7 separate regions of the Homo sapiens genome follow, and all the other regions are linked to region 1. Evidence: promoter capture Hi-C in 16 types of primary human blood cells and fetal thymus (Javierre and others, 2016). All regions are on one chromosome and are shown on one strand. Each heading gives the region's core, a stretch centred on a gene start or on the middle of the fragment in contact. The rest is flanking DNA. Distances are from core to core; before and after follow the strand shown. Region 1 holds the start of MTHFD2 (methylenetetrahydrofolate dehydrogenase (NADP+ dependent) 2, methenyltetrahydrofolate cyclohydrolase). Region 2 has its middle 17 kb from the start of TPRKB. Region 3 overlaps STAMBP (STAM binding protein). Region 4 overlaps TPRKB (TP53RK binding protein). Region 5 holds the start of LOXL3 (lysyl oxidase like 3). Region 6 has its middle 5.4 kb from the start of ACTG2. Region 7 overlaps STAMBP (STAM binding protein).

Region 1 (3,031 bases), core at 437-2,936:
TAGGTAATGAATGAGAGCATCTTTATAAATCTCTTTTGGACCATGGAAGCCTAGGAAAGGTCTGGTCCACAGTCACATGAGGCCAGCACTCAGGAAGAGGGAGAAGGGGAGAAAACACACAGTAACGAAACATGGGGGAGGTCAAGAGTCAGACCAGGGAAAACCCTGAAAGTCCCCTCCCACGTTTTCCTTCAAGAACTCATTGCTCCAACAAGCAGCGCCTTTGAAATATTTCTAACAGCATTTCCGCACTGACTGGAAATTACACGCGTGTTCTGCCCCTTGTCAGGAACATGAGCTCCATTAAGAACAGTTTTTCTCATCTTTGAATTCGCACAGCTTGGCATAGTGTCTGGTACACAGTGAACGTTAGATGAAAAAAAGAAGGGGCTGATGTTGTAAGGTGCAGGGCTCTAACAATGCCAACAATGCCAGCGCTCTAATGACCGACCAAATCACCTTCCCAAGGAAACCCAAAAATGCAAACAGAGCTTTTCCTTTCCTCCTCCCCTGTATATTTTTCCCAATTTTGTTATTGTGGTAAAATTCACATAACATAAACCTTATCAACTTTTTTTTTTTTTTTTTTTTTTGAGACAGGGTCTCGCTCTGTCGCCCAGACTGGAGGGCAGTGGTGCAATCACGGCTCACTGCAGCCTCGAACTCCTGGGCTCAAGCGATTCTCGTGCCTCAGCCTCGGCGCGTGTCACCACGCCCGGCCCATCTTAACCATTTTTAAGTGCAGTTCAGTGGTATTAAATACGTTCATATGTTGTGCAACCATCACCACCATCCATCTTCAGAACTCTTCATCTTGTAAAACTGAAATTCTGCAAGTACCGCTGAAATATGGGTACTTGTCACTCTCCATTCCCCCTTTCCCTAAGGCCCTGGGAGCCTCCCGGATGTTTGCCACCTCTATGTACGCAGCCCGGCACTGACAGGCTCTGGTGGGCTGCAGCCAAAGCTAGGGTGCCCAGAGTCCGTTCATGTTCCTGGCAGAGCGGAGGCAGCGCGGGCCACTCCCACCGGCGGAGGGAGGAGGGCGGCGCGGGGACCCCGAGCAAGTCGGCTCCGCGATTTCATCAGCTGCAGCAGCGCCCTCCGCCGCTAGGGTCCCCGCAAGGACAACTCGCCGAGGGCTGCTCTTTTGGAACCCTCGCCTGTTCTCCCCCAGACGACTCTCAGCATCCCAGCCAGAGGCGGCCGGCGCTGTCGGAAGGCTCCGCGTAAACTGATGCCTTCGCGTTCCGCACGCCACCCCCGTCCCGCCCGCCGACTGGCCACGGGCCCCGGCGACGCCCCGAGTCGCAGGAGAGCGGCTCCCTCCGAAAGGCGGGCTTCGGGTACCAGCCCTCCGCGCCGAGGAAGCGCCCCAGTCGAGAGCTGCGGCGGCGCTCGGTGCCACGTCGCCCCGCCACACCCCTCAGCGGCCACCACCGCCGGGGCGGAGATGTTCGGGAAGGACTTCCCTCGGTGTCCCTCGGGGGCCCGGCGTGCCCCTCGCCCTCCGTTCCCCTCAGCTTTCCGCGCTGACCGAGCTCTGTGACCCTCTTACCGAACTGCCGCGAGGTGGAAAGGGCGAAGGCGAAGGGAGCAGCTGTGCGCGGGCTGCAGCAGCCGGGCAGCCAAAGCAGACATTAGAGAAGTCGCAGCCATAGACCGCGCCGGTGACTGCGCCGGGAGGGAAGCGCGCGCGCGGGCCACGCGGTTATACTGCGGCCTCGTGGCAGGCCCCGCCTCCCTCCGCCACCCATTGGTCCCTGCCGCATGCCACTGGCTGTCTGTTGAGCCAGGTGGAGCCGAAGGGGCCAACCGGTTTTCTTTATTAAACGTAAGCGAAGTCCGAAAGAGCCCTGCTTTTGATTGGAGCCAGAAGAGCCTGGAGCGAGGTCCTGTAAGGCGCTGAAGCCTCGGCAACGTGCCATGATAGGCTGAGGAAGTCAAACTCCTGCCTGACGCCGCTAGTGTCACCGAAGGCCGGACAACACAAGAGAAAAGTTCATTCATTCATTCGTTGAACAATTATATGAGCGCCTACTGTGTGCCAAGCACTGTAAAGGGTGGATGAAAAGACAAGCTGATAGAATGCCAACGAACAGAAGTAAAAGGAATGATGGAGTTAGAAAATCACCATTTTCCAAAATCAGTACATGGTGGCGCGTGACTACAGTACCAGCTACTGGGGAGGCTGAGGTGGAAGGATCACCTGAGTTCAGGAGGTTGAGGCTGCAGTGAGCTGAAGGCGCGCCACTGCACTCCAGCCTGGGCGACGAGAGTGAGACCATATCTCAAAACAACAACAAAAAAAGTAAAATCATAAAAGATATTCAGAGACAGACGTCAGGGTTGCATGTGCAACCCTGATTCAGAAGCAGCAATAGATGTCAAAACAACTGGGTGAAAGTTGGATGAGGAGCAAGATATTTACATATAGGGTTGCCAGATCTAGCAAATAAAAACACAAGATGCCCAATCAAATCAGAATTTTAGATAAACACTTTGGGAGGTCATATTTATACTTTATTTATGGCTTATCTGGAATTCAGATTCAACTGGGCTTCCTGTATTTTTTCCCGCAAACTTTTTGCATAGTCTCAAAGTATCTCTCCCGCAAGGAAACTTAAGGAGGGCAGGGCGCGGTGGCTCACTTCTGTAATCCCCAGCTCTTTGGGAGGCCAAGGCGGACGGATCACCTGAGGCCAGGAGTTCGAGACCAGCCTGGCCAATGTGTTGAAACCCCCGTCTCTACTAAAAACACAAAAAATTATCTGAGCATCGTGGCGGACGCTGTAATCCCAGCTACTGGGGAGACTGAGGCATGAGAATCGCTTGAATCTGGGAGGCAGAGGTTGCAGGGAGCCGAGACTGTGCCACTGCACTTCAGCCTGGGCAACAAAAAGACTCTGTCTCAAAAAACAAAACAAACAAACAAAGAACAGGGGAAACCAATCCTGTCAACACCTTGACCTTTACTTCTAGCCTCCAGGAAGGAAAGGAAAATGGTAAATTTACAGTGAAGAAACATGAC
Region 2 (3,019 bases), core at 372-2,871, 440 kb after region 1:
TTCCCAAAGATTGTGGGGGAATTTTTAAATCCTTGAGATAACAGTACTGCTGATTGACCTGTGTCCCAGCCTCAGAGATTCAAATTCAAAGATCTCTTGTGTCTCCTTGTCTAATGCAAAATAAGGCATCTTTACAGTCCAAATCTGTAAACCAACCTAGTTCTCCTGACAAAGTGATCAGCAAGCTATAGGGGTTAGTTACCATAGGGTGTATGTCCTAGACTGTTTCATTACTGGCCCTAAGTCTTGTACAAACTGTAGTTGTCTTTTTTTTTTTTGAGACGAATCTCGCTCTGTCACCCAGCCTGGAGTGCAGTGGCACGATTTCGGCTCACTGCAAGCTCCGCCTCCCAGGTTCAAGCCATTCTCCTGCCTCAGCCTCCTGAGTAGCTGGGACTACAGGTGCCTGCCACCACGCCTGGCTAACTTTTTTGTATTTTTAGTAGAGATGGGGTTTACCATGTTAGCCAGGATGGTCTTGATCTCCTGACCTCGTGATCCGCCCGCCTCGGCCTCCCAAAGTGCTGGGATTACAGGCGTGAGCCACCACGCCCAGCCGAAACTGTAGTTGTCTTAATGGGACTTGCATGATGGTAAGATGTAGGGACCAGCCCCACAGGGTCAGTGGGTTTTTCTCCCCATGTGTGGAGACGAGAGATTGTAGAAATAAAGACACAAGACAAAGAGATAAAAGACAGCTGGGCCTGGGGGACCACTACCACCAAGATGCAGAGACCAGTAGTAGCCCCGAATGCCTGGCTGCACTGTTATTTATTGGATACAAGGCAAAAGGGGCAGGGTAAAGAGTGTGAGTCATCTCTAGTGATTGATAAGGTCACGTGAGTCACGTGTCCACTGGACAGGGGGCCCTTCCCTGCCTGGCAGCCGAGGCAGAGAGAGGGAGAGCGAGAGAGAGACAGCTTACGCCATTATTTCTGCATATCAGAGACTTTTAGTACTTTCATTAATTTTGCTACTGTTATCTAAAAGGCAGAGCCAGGTGTACAGGATGGAACTTGAAAGCAGACTAGGAGCGTGACCACTGAAGCACAGCATCACAGGGAGACAGGGTCAGGCCTCCGGATAACTGCGGGCGGGCCTGACTGATGTCAGGCCCTCCATAAGAGGTGGAGGAGTAGAATCTCCTCTAAACTCCCCCAGGGAAAGGGAGACTCCCTTTCCCGGTCTGCTAAGTAGCGGGTGTTTTTCCTTGACACTGATGCTACTGCTAGACCACGGTCTGCTTGGCAATGGGCGTCTTCCCAGACGCTGGCATTACCACTAGACCAAGGAGCCCTCTGGTGGCCCTGTCCGGGCATAACAGAAGGCTTGCACTCTTGTCTTCTGATCACTTCTCACTCACTATGTCCCTTCGGTTCCTATCTCTGTATGGCCTGGTTTTTCCTAGGTTATGATTATAGAGCGAGGATTATTACAGTATTGGAATAAAGAGTAATTGCTACAAACTAATGATTAATGATATTCATATATAATCATGTCTATGATTTAGATCTAGTATAACTCTTGTTGTTTTATATATTTTATTATACTGGAACAACTTGTGCCCTCGGTCTCTTGCCTCAGCACCTGGGTGGCTTGCTGCCCACCGTAGAACAGGAATGTTAAAGGGAGAATTACAGGACCAAATCAGTCCTTGTGCCAAAAAAGCCTTCCAAGAGTGGTTGAATACCCTTTCATGCCACTTCCTTTAATGGGTATTCTGTGTCTCTCTTTTAATTTTTATGGGTTTGGCTGTGACCACTCTCCCTGGCTTCCCTTGGGCCCAAACATCTCTCCTTACCTGTGTGAGAATTTCTTCTGGAATGTCCTGAACCTCTTCGTTTTCTGGTTGCAGCAGGAGTATTTGAAACCTGCAAACTTGTTCAGAAGGAATCATTATATCTAGGCATCTGGGGGGAAAGACAAGTTGAGCATACAATTTGGCAAGCAAATCCCAGCCCAGGAGGGGCACTGGGCATTAAGCATGTACAAGAAACTATGCCCTAGGCCGGTCTCTCGTAAATGGTAACCTGAAGATTGTAGAAAGGGATAATGGTGTCTCCCAATATCCGTGTAACAGTAATGGTTTTTCCCAAAGCTGGAGAGAGACAATTGTTAATTAATTAATATGTGGCACTGTGTCAAGTAAAAAGTCAATCATTCTGTTCCCCACTGTCAGTTGTATCTAGGAATCCTGTGGGGATATAGCCACTGGTTGCTCCAAGTCTAAGGGAGTCCCTGGGACACATCAGTCTTCATCTAAATATTATTCTCTCTCCTCATCTGATTTTGAGGGACACTGCACTTGCTAGCTGCTTTGGTCAATTTGGGACAGCCCTTTTTCCAGTGTCCCTCCTTCTTACAATAGGCATATTGGTTTTTTTTCTGAAGGGGGCGTGAGCCGCTCTTTGATTTCTTCCTTTTCCCCTAGGTTGGTAGTCAAGCACAGCTGCCAGTGAGTTACTTGTTGCTTCAATTTGCACTTTCCTGAGCCTCATCCTGAGCATAGTACACTTTAAAAGCTAAGTCCACTAAATGTGAGATTGGCAACCCAAGGATCCCATTTACCTTTTGCAGTTTTCTTTGAATATCAGGGCACTGTGGCTGATAAAGGTCACATTGACCATTCTCTGATTGTCCGGTGCCTCAGGGTTAGTTAGCGTCAACCTACTTTCCACATGTCTGATGGAGTCTTTCTGGGAATTACAAAGGGTCCTCATATGCTTGCCGCTGTACTTCCTGTACCTTATTGAGGCTCTTAACCTGAGTAACCCCTTTCCTCAAACCTTCAAGGATGTGGTTCTCATAGTGTCCTAAGTGGGAAAGGCCCCACCATTTACATCGCACCTGGTCTCTGTGTTAGGGACTGAGTCTATTGGCCAGGGGTGATTGTTTCCTGCCTCCAGATGGAGCCGATTTGCTTCTTCCCTAGCCTTTTCTGTGACTACATGCCTTTCTTCTGCTGTGAGCAGCACTTTAACAAAGTGAGTATCTGCCCTTGTCGGGTGGTAGGTCAGAA
Region 3 (3,096 bases), core at 351-2,850, 350 kb after region 1:
CAGGAGTTTGAGACCATCTTGGCCAACATGGTGAAACCCCATCTCTACTAAAAATACAAAAATTAGCCGGGTATGGTGGCGGATGCCTGTAGTCCCAGTCACTCGGGAGGCTGAGGTAGGAGAATCACTTGAGTCGGGGAGGCAGAGGTTGCAGTGAGCTGAGATCGTGCCACTGCACTCCAGCCTAGGCGACAGAGTGAGACTGTCTCAAAAAAAAAAAAAAAAAATAGCTTGAAAAGTCAATTCTTATAAATAGCTTCAGGTATAACCAAATGTGAATCCAACCCTCAAATTCTCTGATCTAAAAACCTATGTTTTGGAGAGAATGTTCATTGTTCTTATGATTCTCACTCTAGACATAGCAGGTAGGCGACAGATTTTCTGTCCCTCAAGTCACTCTCTTCGACAAATAGGCTATATCTGTGTTACAACCCTGAGCCTAACCACTGGTGTTCTACTTTTTTGAGTTTCTGGTCTTTGCCCAAAAAAGGTGAAACAGCACATTAAAAGCACAGGATATATTGAAATGTCATATTACAATCCCAGGGCACAGCCTAAAAAAGCAAAATAATTTTCTTCTTAGCTGTTATATACTGACCTTTTCTTCATTATATTCTGTATATTCTTTGGTATATCGTTTTAACAGCTCTGCCTTCAGCTCTTCTGCTTTGGGAAATGCAATCTCCTTTAATTTCTGAGACACAAAACAGAAAATAGAATTAGAACAATGCCAGAAAATTACAGAATCCAAAAGAAGACTTAAGTCAAGTTGGTGACTGCAACATTTCCCAAAATGATTTAAAATACCCCCTACTGTACCATACCTGCTACTTCAGAACTGTTGTGGTGAAATGGCCTTATCTCCTATTGCAGGATCTGGTACTCAGATGCAGAGACTACTACTTTTATCTTGAAGTCAGTCTGTGCTGCTCTGAAGCTTTTAGATGGGCAACAATGAAAGTGAAGACCCACCTTTACTGTGTCTTTCTTTTCAGGAATGACAGCAGATTTGTAATCTCGATGTTTTGGTAGTTTCTCAATAAAGAGCCTAAGGAAACAGTTCAAAATGATTATGAAGCAAATGGTCCAAATGTCCATAAGACCCTAAAGCTATGCAACCCCCTTATCCTGAAGCCCTTATATGAAAGGTTCCAGAAGTGCAGCGGAGGGAGAGCTAATACACCCAGCTGGGCCATGCTCCTTTCCCATCTCTATCCCCCTAAAGAGCCAGAGTCTTTTCCTCTACTCCCAAACTAGGCAGCAAGCACCAGACTCCTACAATGAAAAAGATGGCCAAAAAAATTTTAAAAAGCCTTTCTTGTGCCCAAAAATGTACCTCCAAAGAAAGAGATCTTTTTCTTGTTGTGACGTGACAGGTTTTCAAAGGAAAGGGCTTCTGTCACATAGCAGTCTTCAGAGAACCGTTTGGCAGCCATGGGCAGGAAGCAAGAGAAAACCATGTTTCCTTACTCCTTCTAGCTCTTATGTAACCTTTAACTTTGGCTTTTTTCCTTTGGGATTCGTGTTCCTTCAAAGAAGAATACTACTTTGCATCATACAAAAATGCATGGAAATACTTAGTGCATGTGTTCTATGCATGTAGTATGTGCATATTACATGTTAGCATGCACTGTCTTTGATGAAAAGTGCTTAGGTAAATATAAGATGCTAGATTTCATCTTTTGGTTCTTGTCCATGGCTCTAAAGCTCAGTGGGGAGAATAAACTTAATTAATTCACAAATCTCTAACATTTAAGACATCTACTTAGGGGCAGTGAAAATAAATAAAAGTCCAGTAACCTGTCACAGAAAGAAAGTGGCAGATTCAGAATTTCAGTATGAGCAGGCTGGCTCCAGAGCCTATTCTTTTAACCACTACACCATACTTCTTCCATACGGATTCTGGAATGTCTAGAACTACTGGAGGGATTCTGAACAAAGATGTCTTTTAACAGAATTAAGTTGTAATACACAGAAACTGAGATAAAAAAATAAATTGAAGGTAGCTTGCTGATAGCTCTAAAATATTATATTGTAATTGGGATAAACTCTTTTCTACTTACTGCCCATGGGGCAGAAGTAATTGGAAGAAGAATCCTCAATAAAGAAAAAAGATGATCCCCACCAAAACAAACTTTCTAAAGATAAGTCCTCATCCTTCAGTTCTATATTAGGCACACAAGTTTCATTTTGATCCAACTTGATAAGGCTCCTCAAGGCAGGGATGGACTCTAAAATAAAAATGGTTCTTTAAAAAGCTTCCTTTTGGGTTCATGAAGAAGATATAAAAGAGGCTGGGTGCGGTGGCTCATGCCTGTAATCCCAGCACTTTGGGAGACCGAGGCAGGAAGACTGCTTGAGCCCAGGAGTTCAAGACCAGCCTGGGTAACAGGGTGAGACCTTGTCTCTATTTATATTTTTTAATTTATATATATATATACATATATATATATACATACACAAACATATATAACAAAACATAAAAAAACACAAAAATTAGCTGGGTGTGGTGGTATGCATCTGTAGTCCCAGCTGCTTGGGAGGCTGAGGCAGGAGGATCTCTCGATCCCAGAAGTCTGAGGTTACAGTGAGCTTTGATCACACCACTGCACTCCAGCCTGGGTGACAGAGGGAGATCCTATCTCTATTTGGAAAAAAAAAAAAAAAAAGAAAGATATAAAACAGTTTCCTTGAAGTCTATATTTAAAAGAAATACAGATTCATTTGTTCAAACCATAAAGTCCTGAAGAATCTATTAAGATAAATAAGACATATTTCTTATATTTTAGAGACTGATAGATGATTCAGTAGAACTCTCATCTTAGCCCCAAAAGCCAAGATACATATTAATATTTACTACCTTTAGCAGGCTGAATGTGCTTTGTATTGAGGCCTGAATCAGCTAAGAAAGTACTATGTCATATAAACACTATGTTTTATTTTTACTTATGCTCTTATTATAGAACTACACTGCGAGCTTCCTGAGGCCAGAGATTTCTGTGTTTCATGCTTCTTTGTATACTCCTTGGAAGCCAGCACAGTGCCTTGTATAAAGAGGCACTCAATAAATATTTGATGAGTAAACATTACATATAT
Region 4 (2,857 bases), core at 234-2,733, 470 kb after region 1:
CCTCATCTGAACAAACAGCAACCAGCTGGGCCCCTTGGCGTTTCCCTGGGGATGACAACAGAACAACTCAGAAGGGTTAGGAAGACAACATCTCATGAGGATGCCAAATGGGCTTTGGCGATGGATTTTTCTAGTTTAACACTTTTATCAAGTTACTTTCAAAGTTTTTGAATATTTATTAAGAAATGAGTTCTGATGTTAACTTTTAAATGAAATCTTTTGGTCTTTTCATTTTGTGTGCAGTAGAATCCTGCTTATCTGTGAAATGCAGTTAACACATCAGCTGGACCTATTTCCCGAATGCAGGGTAACCCTTCTGTTATTTAAAGATGTAAAAAATGCGGGAGACTTGAGAAGAAAGGCCATGGAAGGCACCATCGATGGATCACTGATAAATCCTACAGTGGTAAATATAAATTTTAAGAATGAATGAGCCTGCTGGGTGCGGTGGCTCACGCCTGTAATGCCAGCACTTTAGGAGGCCGAGGCGGGTGGATCATCTGAGGTCAGGAGTTGAAGACCAGCCTGGCCAACATGGTGAAACCCTGTCTCAACTAAAAATACAAAAATTAGCTGGGCGTGGTGGCGGGCGCCTATAATCCCAGCTACTCGGGAGGCTGAGGCAGGAAAATCATTTGAACCCTGGAGGCAGAGGTTGCAGTGAGCCAAGATTGCGCCATTGCACTCCAGCCTGGGCGACGAGCAAAACTCTGTCTGGAAAAAAAAAATGGCCAGGCATGGTAGCTCACGCCTGTAATCCCAGCCCTTTGGGAGGCCGAGGCAGGCAGATCATGAGGTCAGGAGTTTGAGACCAGCCTGGCCAATATGGTGAAACCCTGTCTCTACTAAAAATACAAAAATTAGCTGAGCATGGTGGTGGGCACCTGTACTCAGGAGACTGAGGCAGGAGAATCGCTTGAGCCTGGGAGGCAGAGGTTGCAGTGAGCCGAGATTGTGCCACTGCACTCCAGCCTGGGCAACAGACCAAGAATCCGCCTCAAAAAAAAAAAAAAAAAAAAAGAATGAATGAGCCATACAGGGCATTTAAGTATACATTAATATTTGTGATGTTATAGGGTAGCCTAAAAATCTGTCACGGTTAGGGAAAAAATTCTTGTCCAAGTCAGATGCAGCCAACTTTGACTATAACAGTGAATAGAGGCAGAAGTGCCAGGTCCTGCCCTAGGAAATAGGAAAGGTTGTGGTCTGGGTCTAATATGGGAAATGCCTGGATCTCCAGCTTCTCATCTTTAAAATGGGGGTTCCTAACAAGACAGTCTGTAGAGGAGGAATAGTGTAGTGGTTAAGAGTACACACAGAGGCCAAGGTGGGTGGATTGCTTGAGGCCCGGAGTTTGAGACCAGCCTGGCCTACATAGTGAAACCGTGTCTCTACTAAAAATACAAAAAGTAGCTGGGTGTGGTGGTGTGTGCTGGTAGTCCCAGCTACTCGGGAGGCTGAGGCACAAGAATCATTTGAACCTGGGAGGCGGAGGTTACAGTGAATTGAGATTGAGCCACTGCATTCCAGCCTGGGCAATGGAGCGAGAGACTCTGTCTGTCTCCAAAAAAAAAAAAAAACAAAAAAACAGGGCACACGCAGTGCGATCATGTTACCGGGAATTAATCCCAGACCTACTACTTAGGCCTTTGAACAAGACATAACCAACCTTTATATAGTGCTTACTGCATTCCTAGCATTGTTCCAAGTGCTTTACGTATACTAACTTGCTTAATCTTCACAACAGCCTATGGAGTGAATACTGTTTCATCGGTCTCTAACAAATAAAATGCTAATGAACTTGCATAAGTTTCCTAGGTGATAGGTGACAGAGATGGGATTCAAACCCAGACATTCTTTGCCTCAATTTCCTCATCAATTACATACTACTACTACTGCTACTACTACTAATAATAGTGTCAATTTCATAGGGTAGTTTTGAGGATTAAAGAAAATATTACAAGTAAAATGTTTGCAATATGATCATGCCCATAATATTAGCCCTCAATTAATGTTATTTAAAAAAATTTTACTATTTGCATAAGTTCCTTGCAGCTTTAAAATTCTGTGATTTCCTGACTACCCAGGCCCTTGGGATAATAGTTGTTTTTTGTTTTTTTTTTTTTTGAGACAGTTTCACTCTTGTTGCCCAGGCTGGAGTGCAATGGCGCGATCTTGGCTCACGGCAACCTCTGCCTCCCGGGTTCAAGCAATTGTCCTGCCTCAGCCTCCTGAGTTGCTGGGATTACAGGTGCGTGCCACCACGCCTGACTAATTTTTGTATTTTTAGTAGAGAGGGTTTCGCCGTGTTGGCCAGGCTGGTCTTGAACCCTGACGTCAGGTGATCTACCCACCTTGGCCTCCCAAAGTGCTAGGATTACAGGTGTGAGCCACCGTGCCCAGCCGGGATAATAGTTTTGAAAATACAGACCGTAAGAATTGTGATGAAGTAAAACAGCTTGACACTGGAGTTAACCATGAGTTACCATGTGTTTTCAGGCACTGCAGATTCTCCATGTGTAATTAATTCTTTTTCCTTGCTTTGGTAGATTGTTGATCCATTTCAGATACTTGTGGCAGCAAACAAAGCAGTTCACCTCTACAAACTGGGAAAAATGAAGACAAGAACTCTATCTACTGAAATTATTTTCAACCTTTCCCCAAATAACAATGTAATGTGCACTTTCCTATTTCTGTTGACCGTGTCATAATAACATATGTGTTCCTCAGTGTTGGGTTGGAGGCTAAATTCCTGCAAGCCAGTGGTTAGTAATAAACCCAAATAATAGTGAAGAGAGCTCTGGACAGAGAGTTGAGGTTTAACCCTGCCTCTTACTAAGACAGTTTACATATGAGT
Region 5 (2,879 bases), core at 380-2,879, 360 kb before region 1:
CAGGTGGGGAAGGCAACTTCCCCTCTGCCACCTCCCCTTCATGGGAGTCAGCTCTGAGAACATCGTGCCCCTGTCCGGCCTTTCCCTGGGCCTTCTGCCGGTGGATGGCAGTCTCAACTGCCTGGAAGATGTCATTTCCCTGTGCCGTCTGGAAGGTGAAGGTTCCAGGGCCTGAGGGGCAGCGGCGGCCGGCCTCGAAAGAGAACATGACCTAAGGAGGGTAGAGGGGGAAACACATTACCAGGAGCCATCAGAGGAAGTGAGTCACACGCCTGCACTAGTTAGGGTATCTACAAAGAAGAGACCACCTGCGAACAGACGCGGGGTCACCGGGTAGGCAAGAAAGGGGGATCCAAAGGTCAGAGCTTCCCACTTTCTGTCCTGCCCCACCCCTCCCACAGCTGCCCAACCCAGGAAGCCCTCCCGGACAGCCCCTGCACCTTGTCCCGGCCATAGCGACGCAACAGAGTGTAGGGCCAGGACAGGAGTGGCTCCAGTATCTGACTCTGGGCCCCCACGGTCAGGAGAGTCAGCCTTTCAGCCTCCACCCTCAGCACGTAGGAGCCATGCAGGCCACAGCGCTCGGCGGCCTCAGTCCTCTGCACCGTTACCCAGAATTGGGATCCTGGAAGGCATACACGATTAGACAGCTGCGGGGGAGGGACGGGGGCAGCAGTGGGGACCCAGAGGACTCATGAGCATAGTGTCCAAGCACTCACTCGGAAGCCAGATCTCAGGGCCTTCCTACTTCTTACTTCCCCATGGGCCCCTGGGTATCCACCCACTTCCCAAAGGCCCTCGGCCCTCCTCCTCTTCACTCCATCCCTGCCCGGGCTTCTGAGGCGTCTACCTTCCCAGGTAGGGCTGTACAAGGAGTTCTCCAGCATCTCCAGGGCAGAAAGCTTAGGTGGGTTATCGGTAGGCGCCAGAGTCCAGCTGCCTTTCTGTAGTAGAGAGCATCGAGAAACCCGTAATTTCCTCAGCGGGGAGCGGGGGTCGGTCTGAGGCAGCCCCATTTCTCTGCCTCTGTAACTGCCCCCACCCCGCATCGCCGCAGCTCCTCACCGGAAAGGCGTTTCGGCACAGCGTCTGCACCCAGGCTGCACTGGACGGCGCGTCGGCCGCCAGCAGGTGCGAGCGCTGAGCAGTGTCCAGGCGGAAGGCAGTGGCGCCGGGCTCAGGGGGGGTCTCCACGGTGACGGGGGCCACACTCACACACTCAGCCAGACGGATCACTTTGCAGTCCAGGCGGCGCGAGCTCCCTCGGCCACCCCCAGAGCTCGACCCCTTATGGTCAAAGAACTCGAGCCGCGCTACGCCGTGGGGACTGGCCGGGTAGAGCACGGCCCAGGTCTTCCTCCACCTCTAGGGAGAGAGAGAGAGTGCTCGAGAGGGAGTGGCGTGCGCAGGCGGCCCGGGTCCCGACGGGGAAGGAGGTTGCGGCGCAAGTCGATTTGGGATCTGGGGCTTCCAAACGGGGTTGGGGGCGAAGTTTCCCAAGGACGATGCCACTCCGTCTCCCCAGGACCAGAACCCCTAGACTACAGACGCTTCCCGGGAGTGTGCAAAGCAACTTCACGGGAAAGTCACAGGCTCTCCAACTCCCGGCGCCGCTCTCCAGCCCGCTGCCCACCTCTCCCTGTTTCTGGGCTCTCTCACCCACTACTAGCCCGGATAAGGTTCGGCATCCATGCGCCAGACTACCTTGGTCCCAAAGCGCTGACTCTGCAAAAAAAGCGGCCCTTCCATCACTGCTCCGTCCATGGCCCCCGGCGGTTCCTTCCGCGCTTCCTGGCCCTGCGGCGGGAGGCGGGGCGGGAGGCGGGGCCGGGTTCCCTGGAGGAGTTTCCGCCCCTCCCCGGCCCCCGCCGGCAGCCGCTGGGGGGGTCGCGGTGGGGTGAGGGAGAGGAGCGAGAAGGAATGGTGGAGACCCCCGGATTAGCCGGGAGCTGCAGCACCCCAGGCCCCTACCCGCCGTCGTGGGGGCGCGCCAGTGGCTCCACCGAAAGTCCTCGGTTTTGGCGCGAGGGCCCTGGCCTCTGGGCGTGGTGGCTGCGCGTGACGTCATATGCCCAAGGTGACGTCAGAGTGAAAGCCATGACATCACCCCGAAAGCGCCCCGGGCACCGGAGAGACCCACACGGGCCTCCGGGGCTTTATTTACCCTGGCCGGGCCCGCCCCCAGCCCCGCCCGAGCCGGGCTGTTTAGACTCCGCTGGCCCGGGACTCGGAGGGAGGGCTGGGGTTGAACCGCTTCCCGCCACCACCGGGGCCGCCCCGCCGCCCGGCCGCCGCTTGCATGTCAGCTCCCTGACCGCAGAGGCCTGGCCTCCATGCCGCGGGAAGAGAAAGCTTCATTGAACGAGCCGGGAGGGCCAGGGAGGGGGAGGGGGCGCGGCAGTGGCCAGCTCCACGGGGAGGGAGGACCCAGAGGAGGAGAGGAGGGAACTGGCCGGGAGGAATGGAAGGAGAAGGCGGAATGTGGGAGGGCTCAGGGGGATGTGGGAGGGACGAACGGAGAAGGGGGAGAGAGGGGGGTCCAGTCTCCCCTGGCCGAGCATTTTTTTTTTTTTTTGGAAGTCCTAGGACTGATCTCCAGGACCAGCACTCTTCTCCCAGCCCTTAGGGTCCTGCTCGGCCAAGGTAGGGGGAGTCACGCTAACCGCAGAGGGAATGAGTAGGGGATGGAGAGGATGTGGAGGGACCAGGGAAAACGGGTGGTGTGGGATGGAGTCGAGGGGAAGCCACCCAACTGAGAGTTTGATTCTTGTCAAAGGGCAAGTGAGACAGAGTACACGGAGGAGGCACATACCGGAGGCGGGGGCTACGGGTGTTCGAACAGGGCCGCCAGGAGCGCCCTAAGGGAGGGGGCTCCTCCG
Region 6 (2,877 bases), core at 373-2,872, 310 kb after region 1:
AATTATAGGCATGAGCCACCGCACCCGGCTCATGAAAGTGTAAAATTATGTGGTAACTAATGAGAATGAACACATGTTTTGCTTATATCAACTTTTCTTTTCTTCTTTTTCTTTTTGAGACAGAGTCTCTCTCTGTCACCCAGGCTGGAGTGCAGTGGTGTGATCTTGGCTCACTGCAACCTCTCTGCCTCCTGGGTTCAAGCGATTCTCATGCCTCAGCCTCCCGAGTAGCTGGGATTACAGGTGTGCATCACCATGCCCAGCTAATTTTTGTGTTTTTTAGTAGAGATGGAGTTTCACCCTATTGGCCAGGCTGGTCTGGAACTCCTGACCTCAGGTGATCTGCCCACCTCAGCACCCCAAAGTGCTAGAATTACAGGCATGAGCCACTGTGCCCGACCTAACTTTTTTTTTTTTTTAACTTGTCTTTCTCTGAAAATGGCTGCTTCCTGTTTACTTTTTTTTTCTATTGGATTGTTCACCTTTATCTTCTTGAGTTATGAGAGATCTTGGTATATTATATTAGTGATATAATTAGCCTTTTGCCTACTACAAGTGTTGCAAATATTTTCCCCCCAGTTTAAACATTTGCCTTTCGATTTTGTCTGGTAGCATTTGCCTTACTAAAGTTTAATCAAATGTCTTTCCTGTTTAGTGTCTGTTTTATAACATCCTTAGGAAGGCTGAGCACTTCTTTTTATACATTTTAACTTTTAAAAATTGTAATTGTGGAAAACACATATAATATAAAATTTACAATATTAACCATTTAAAAATGTATGGTTCTATATGGTTTTTGTTTTGTTTTGTTTTGTTTTGTTTTTTTGAGACGGTGTGTCACTCCTGCTGCCCAGGCTGGAATGCAATGATGCAATCTCGGCTCACTGCAACCTCCGCCTCCCGGGTTCAAGCGATTCTCCTGCTTCAGCCTCCTGAGTAGCTGGGATTACAGGCACCCACCACCATGCCCAGCTAACTTTTGTATTTTCAGTAGATACGGGGTTTCACCATGTTGGCCAGGCTGGTCTCAAACTCCTGACCTCAGGTGATCCATCTGCCTCAGCCTCCCAAAGTGCTGGGATTAGAGGTGTGAGCCACCGTGCCCTGCGGTTCTGTACTATTAAGTATATTCACATTGTTATACAACCAGTCTCCAGAACGTTTTTATCTTGCAAAACTGAAACAGTATCCATTAAACAACTCCTCACTTTGCCCTCCCCCAGCCCCTGGCAACAGCTCTTCTACTTGCTGTCTCTGAATCTGACAACTCTGAATACCTTGTAAGAGTGGAGTCATACAGTGTTTGCCCTCAAGGTTCATCCATGCTGTAGTATGAGTCAAAATTTCCTTGCTTTGTATTTATGTAATTTTATTTTTCGGAGACAGGGTCTTACTTTGTCACCCAGGCTGGTGTGCAGTGGCGTGATCATAGCTCACTGCAGCCTCAAATTCCTGGGCTTGAGCAATGCTCCTGCCTCAACCTCCCAAACAGCTAGGACTATAGGCATGCTCCACCACACCCAGCTAATTTTTAAAAAATTGTAATTTTTGTGGAGGAGGCGGGAGGCGGGTCTCAATATGTTGCCTAGGCTGGTCTTGAACTCCTGGCTTCAAGCGATCCTCCCGCCTGCGTCTCCCAAAGTTCAGGGATTACAGGAATGACCCAATGTGTGGCCTCCTTGCTTTTTAAAGCTGAATAATACTTCATTGTATCTCTATAACACATTCTGTTTATCCATTCATTTATTGAGTGACACTTGAAGTCCTTTCACTTCTTGGCTATTGTGAATAATGCCACTATGAACATGGATGTACAAATAGCTCTTTGAGACCCTGCTTTTACTTCTTTTGGGTATACACCCAGATACAGAATTGCTGGACCATCTGGTAATTTTCTTTTTACTTTTTTGATGAAGTGCCAAATGGTTTTCCATAGGGACCACATCATTTTCCATTTCCACCAACAGTGGTGCACAATGATTCCAATTTCTCCACATCCTTGCCAACACTTTGTTATTTTCGGGGTTGTATTTTATTTTCTAAAGTAGCCATCCTAATGGGTGGCTACTTTTTAAAAATTGTATATGAGCGTCGTGTTTTAATTAAACAGACTTTTTTTTTTTTTTTGAGATAGAGTCTTTCTCTGTCACCAGGCTGGAGTGCAATGGCGTGATCTCAGCCCACTGCAACCTCCATCTCCCGGGTTCAAGTGATTCTCCTGCCTCAGCCTCCTCAGTAGCTGGGACTACAGGCATGCACCACCACACCCAGCTAATCTTTGTATTTTTAGTAGAGATGGGGTTTCACCATGTTGGCCAGGATGATCTTGATCTCTTGACCTCATGATCCACCTGCTTTGGCCTCCCAAAACGCTGGGATTACAGGGGTGAGCCACCGTGCCCAGCCTAGACTATTTTTTTAGAGTAGTTTTAGGTTCACAGAAACATTGAACAGAAAGTATAGAGAGTTTCCATTACGCCCAACACCCACACACTCTCAGGTTTCTCCACTATCAAAGTCATATACCAATGTGGTTCATTTGTTATAACCAATGAACCTACATTGACACATCATTATCACCCAAAGTTCATAGTTTGCATTAGGGTTTGCTCTTGGTGCTGTACATTCAATGGGTTTTGACAAATGTATAATGCCATGTATCCACCCTTATACTGTAGTGTCATACGGACTAATTTCACTGACCATCTATTCATCCTTTCCCCTCCACAACCCCTGGCAACCATTGATCTTTTTGCTGTCTCCATAGTTTTGCCTTTTCTTGAATGCCATATAATTGAAATCGTACAGTATGTGGCCTTTTTAAGGTTGACTTCTTTTACTTAGCAATAGAGATTTAAGTTTTCTCCATGTCTTTTT
Region 7 (3,196 bases), core at 518-3,017, 340 kb after region 1:
AGCTCTGCTCTGACCCCAAGCAAATCAGCTCCTCTGATTCTCTCTGCACCTGGCCTATGGCACTTTGGTAGGTTTGTGCCTCCCAGGGCAACTGGGACATTGTTTGGCAACCTGACGATGCTTTTGTCTCCCCTCTCAGCCCAGAACACTAAGTATGGTACTTGTGCAGCTTGCAAGAGTGGAAAAGTCTCCTGGTCTTTGAGCCTCGGGAACCCAGGAGTCAGTCCCTTTAGCCAAATAGTCATTACCCTTTCAATACAATGTCTTTCCTCAGGTTGCGTGGTCTTTGTCCCTTTTACCCACAGTATTCCTTTCCTCTTTTCCCGACCGCTCTGGCTACTCCTCTTTCTCTCCGGCCTATCCAGTCTCAGGGCTTGTGGGCTGGCTTGATTCCACGTCTCCTCCACAGAGGTAAGATGAAGACAGAGACACTTAGACCATCCTATGCAGAGTGCCTCTGCAGTGGCTAGGCTGCAGCAGATATGAAGAGGGATCTACAGACTGATTTCCTGCACCCATCTAGCCACTAAGATATCTTGTGCCTAGAGGAAGAGAAAAGAAAATATAGCAGTTTGGTGATCAGTCTGTGATCAATGTGGTTGCAACGTATGATATGTTGTTGACCTGGCTGAATGTCTTTGGTGGGCAGAGACGGATAAGAGAGCTCACAATTCTTAGGTATCAAAGACCAATGCAGTGGTTGTCAACCCTGGTTGTACTTGAGAATTCTAGCAGCTTGAAAGACAAATGCAGAAACAACATCTGAGGCTCCACCCTAGAGATTCAGCTTTAATTGGTGGGGGGTAGAACACAGGCATCAGTATTTTTTAAATTGCTCCCTAGATATTTGAATATATAGCCAGGGGTAAGAACTTTAAGTGGAAAGTTCTGACTAAAAGCTAAATTTAGATTTTCAGCAATGGGAAGCTATTGCAGGTTTTTGAGCAAGAGAGAAAACATGAACATGGCTGGAATGTGAGAAGCTTCTCCTGATCAAAGTGTGCAGAACAGACTGGAATGAAGAAATGCTAAAAACAAAGAGACTTGGTAAAAGCCAACGGCTACAGTCGAAATAAAAGGTAAGAAAGCCCTAAGCTAAGTGGTAGACAAAGAATGGGAAGAAGGGGATGGATTTCCCAAAAGCAGAGGACTGGGCAATTTCAGGACTGTTTAGAGCAAGGTGGAACAGCCAGGCTGCTCTGGGCTGCAGCAGGAAATGGCTTGTCCAAGCCCAGCTGGCCCCCAGACCCACCCATACCAAAACAGCAAAGAAGGAATTTCCACTATATGGGGAATTAAGAACCCAAGAGAAGAAAAAGAATATAGAGAACTGGGCTCTTTCAGGGGACAAGTTCAAGGACCACTAACCTAAGCAATAAAGACTGAGACAAAATTTAAAAATGAAGAAAACTTTATGCATTCACAGATTCTCCCTCCCCCACCTAGAATTCTGATAAAGAATAAATCACTCTTCTCCTAGCCAAAGTATTTACTCTCCTGCCCTCACTCGAGGTGTCACAAATGACACCATTATTTCTAGGCCACCTAGAACACCAGGCTCAGCTCACAGAAAATTGCAGTAACAATTGCTGCTTCAAGCGTTTTCCTAGGTATTGCCTTAGTCAGAAAAGAACAGCCAACACAATGAAATTGGTAGGGTGGGGTGGCTGGGAAATGTAATCATTTATTGGAGTGTAACCTGGTACTCCAAACAAAGGCTTCATTATCCTCAGCCAAAAGCATGGAGGGCATAAGGAGGAAGTGAATGGTTGACCCATTTGAGACAGCACCAAAAGAACAGAGATGACTTCACAACACCTCTGGAAGATGGCAACAGGCAGATAAAAAACAAGGAGTAATTAAAAGTGAACTGGGACACACCATCAGTGTCAGTATATCTCAAATTCCATTTTTCCTTCACCTTTCCAAAACAACCATACCTTTTTTTTAACCTGTTTATACAATGCTTGATCAAATGGATCACTCTGAAGCACAAAAACATAAGTTAATTGTTACTTTATTGTAGAGGAAAAATATCCTGAAATATTTATTAAATAACAATAATTCCTGACAAAATCATTCTTCGGGATGTGTTAGCCAAACAATCTGGTCAAATGGAGTAAGCTGTCCCTCACCCCAGTAATAAGCTCCATTCATATTGCCATAAACCACAGGAAAATCCAAAAGATTTTCTAAATGGCTTCCAAATTTCTGCACAGATGCCCTTATTGAGCCCAGAGGTAAATATAAACAAATTGAAATTAGAGAGAAATTAGAAGGATAGCTGAGAGGAAAAAAATGTTAACAATTGGTGAATCCAGAAGGAAGGGTATATGGGGGTTCATTATACCATTCTTTCTTAATTTCTGAGCTACTTAATTTCTGAGTAACTTAATTTCTGAGTTACAGTTGCTTTTGGGTGACCATGTTCTCTTTCTGACTTGCCTAAAAAATATGTTCAGTTATTTCTTTTCAAACCTGAAATACAAAATCAGCTCTTTCTCAGGTGATGCCCCCCTTTCTACTATCTACAAAAACTTCCAAAGCTTTCTAGAAAGCTTAAATTAAGGGGCTACAGTACACTGATATGGTTTTGTTGTTCTTGGAAGGTGTTGGACTCAAACGCTCATCGAAGGTCTGTGATGGTCACTGCTCTGTCCACAACAGTCACGTGGCTGCAGCTCTGCAATAGGAAAAAAGAAAGGTGGAGTCCTAGAAAATTCTGAAAAGTCTTTTTTTTTTTTTTCTTCATATAGGGTCTTGCTCTGTTGCCCAGGCTGGAGTGCAGTGGCACGATCTCGGCTCACTGCAACCCCCGCCTCCTGGGTTCAAGCGATTCTTCTGCCTTAGCTTTCCCAGTAGCTGGGATTACAGGCACGAGCCACCATGCCTGGCTAATTTTGTGTTTTTAGTAGAGGTGGGGTTTCGCCATGTTGGTCAGCCTGGACTTGAACTCCTGACCTCAAGTAATCTGCCTGCCTCAGTCTCCCAAAGTATTGGGATTATAGGCGTGAGCCACCGTGCCCGGCCTGAAAAGTCATTTTAAAAAACCACTTTTTGGCTGGGTGCGGTGGCTCACGCTTGTAATCCCAGCACTTTGGGAGGCCAAGGTGGGCAGATCATGAGGTTAGGAGATCAAGACCATCCTGGCCAACATGGTGAAACCCTGACCCTACTAAAAAAAAAAAAAAAAAAA

Evidence for each region. The method cuts DNA at HindIII sites, captures the fragments that hold promoters and counts their contacts. A CHiCAGO score of 5 or more calls a contact.
Region 2: a contact is called between a fragment that was not itself captured here and the fragment with the promoter of MTHFD2 in region 1, in 1 of 17 cell types (total B cells). The highest score is 5.2, in total B cells.
Region 3: a fragment that was not itself captured here is called in contact with the fragment with the promoter of MTHFD2 in region 1 in 14 of 17 cell types (activated CD4 T cells, erythroblasts, total CD8 T cells and 11 more); the score reaches 14.3 in activated CD4 T cells.
Region 4: a fragment that was not itself captured here is called in contact with the fragment with the promoter of MTHFD2 in region 1 in 7 of 17 cell types (non-activated CD4 T cells, fetal thymus, erythroblasts and 4 more); the score reaches 8.1 in non-activated CD4 T cells.
Region 5: a fragment that was not itself captured here is called in contact with the fragment with the promoter of MTHFD2 in region 1 in 4 of 17 cell types (naive CD4 T cells, activated CD4 T cells, fetal thymus and 1 more); the score reaches 8.4 in naive CD4 T cells.
Region 6: a contact is called between a fragment that was not itself captured here and the fragment with the promoter of MTHFD2 in region 1, in 6 of 17 cell types (activated CD4 T cells, naive B cells, naive CD4 T cells and 3 more). The highest score is 10.3, in activated CD4 T cells.
Region 7: a contact is called between a fragment that was not itself captured here and the fragment with the promoter of MTHFD2 in region 1, in 14 of 17 cell types (activated CD4 T cells, naive CD4 T cells, naive B cells and 11 more). The highest score is 9.6, in activated CD4 T cells.

Annotation. Positions count from the first base shown.
Region 1 is chr2:74,197,270-74,200,300 of GRCh38, reverse strand. MTHFD2 (methylenetetrahydrofolate dehydrogenase (NADP+ dependent) 2, methenyltetrahydrofolate cyclohydrolase) reads right to left here and starts at 1,686. Exons shown (of 8, transcript NM_006636.4): 1 at 1,559-1,686. The coding sequence starts at 1,659. RefSeq lists silencers at 928-1,017, 1,148-1,427, 1,618-1,757 and an enhancer at 1,466-2,024. The HindIII fragment of the contact is 3,357 bases long and covers 1-3,031 here.
Region 2 is chr2:73,752,339-73,755,357 of GRCh38, reverse strand. No RefSeq gene overlaps it. Among named protein-coding and RNA genes, the nearest start is that of TPRKB, 17 kb to the right of the region's middle. RefSeq lists a silencer at 1,177-1,360. The HindIII fragment of the contact is 4,937 bases long and covers 1-3,019 here.
Region 3 is chr2:73,842,765-73,845,860 of GRCh38, reverse strand. STAMBP (STAM binding protein) reads right to left here. Exons shown (of 10, transcript NM_213622.4): 3 at 973-1,048; 4 at 599-694. All of the region lies in intron 1 of LOC112268419 (a long non-coding RNA gene), which reads left to right. Among named protein-coding and RNA genes, the nearest start is that of STAMBP, 15 kb to the right of the region's middle. The HindIII fragment of the contact is 1,321 bases long and covers 940-2,260 here.
Region 4 is chr2:73,731,978-73,734,834 of GRCh38, reverse strand. TPRKB (TP53RK binding protein) reads left to right here. Exons shown (of 5, transcript NM_016058.5): 2 at 244-406; 3 at 2,550-2,672. The coding sequence starts at 266. Among named protein-coding and RNA genes, the nearest start is that of TPRKB, 3.9 kb to the left of the region's middle. The HindIII fragment of the contact is 4,504 bases long and covers 1-2,857 here.
Region 5 is chr2:74,553,640-74,556,518 of GRCh38, reverse strand. LOXL3 (lysyl oxidase like 3) reads left to right here and starts at 2,577. Exons shown (of 14, transcript NM_032603.5): 1 at 2,577-2,643. It overlaps DOK1 (docking protein 1), which reads right to left and starts at 1,799. Exons shown (of 5, transcript NM_001381.5): 1 at 1,705-1,799; 2 at 1,066-1,365; 3 at 851-944; 4 at 441-625; 5 at 1-211. The coding sequence starts at 1,764. RefSeq lists enhancers at 1,498-1,557, 1,182-1,699 and a silencer at 1,708-2,457. The HindIII fragment of the contact is 1,450 bases long and covers 905-2,354 here.
Region 6 is chr2:73,886,169-73,889,045 of GRCh38, reverse strand. No RefSeq gene overlaps it. Among named protein-coding and RNA genes, the nearest start is that of ACTG2, 5.4 kb to the left of the region's middle. The HindIII fragment of the contact is 6,858 bases long and covers 1-2,877 here.
Region 7 is chr2:73,861,690-73,864,885 of GRCh38, reverse strand. It overlaps STAMBP (STAM binding protein), which reads right to left. Exons shown (of 10, transcript NM_213622.4): 10 at 1-2,683. The coding sequence ends at 2,627. Among named protein-coding and RNA genes, the nearest start is that of ACTG2, 30 kb to the left of the region's middle. The HindIII fragment of the contact is 1,563 bases long and covers 986-2,548 here.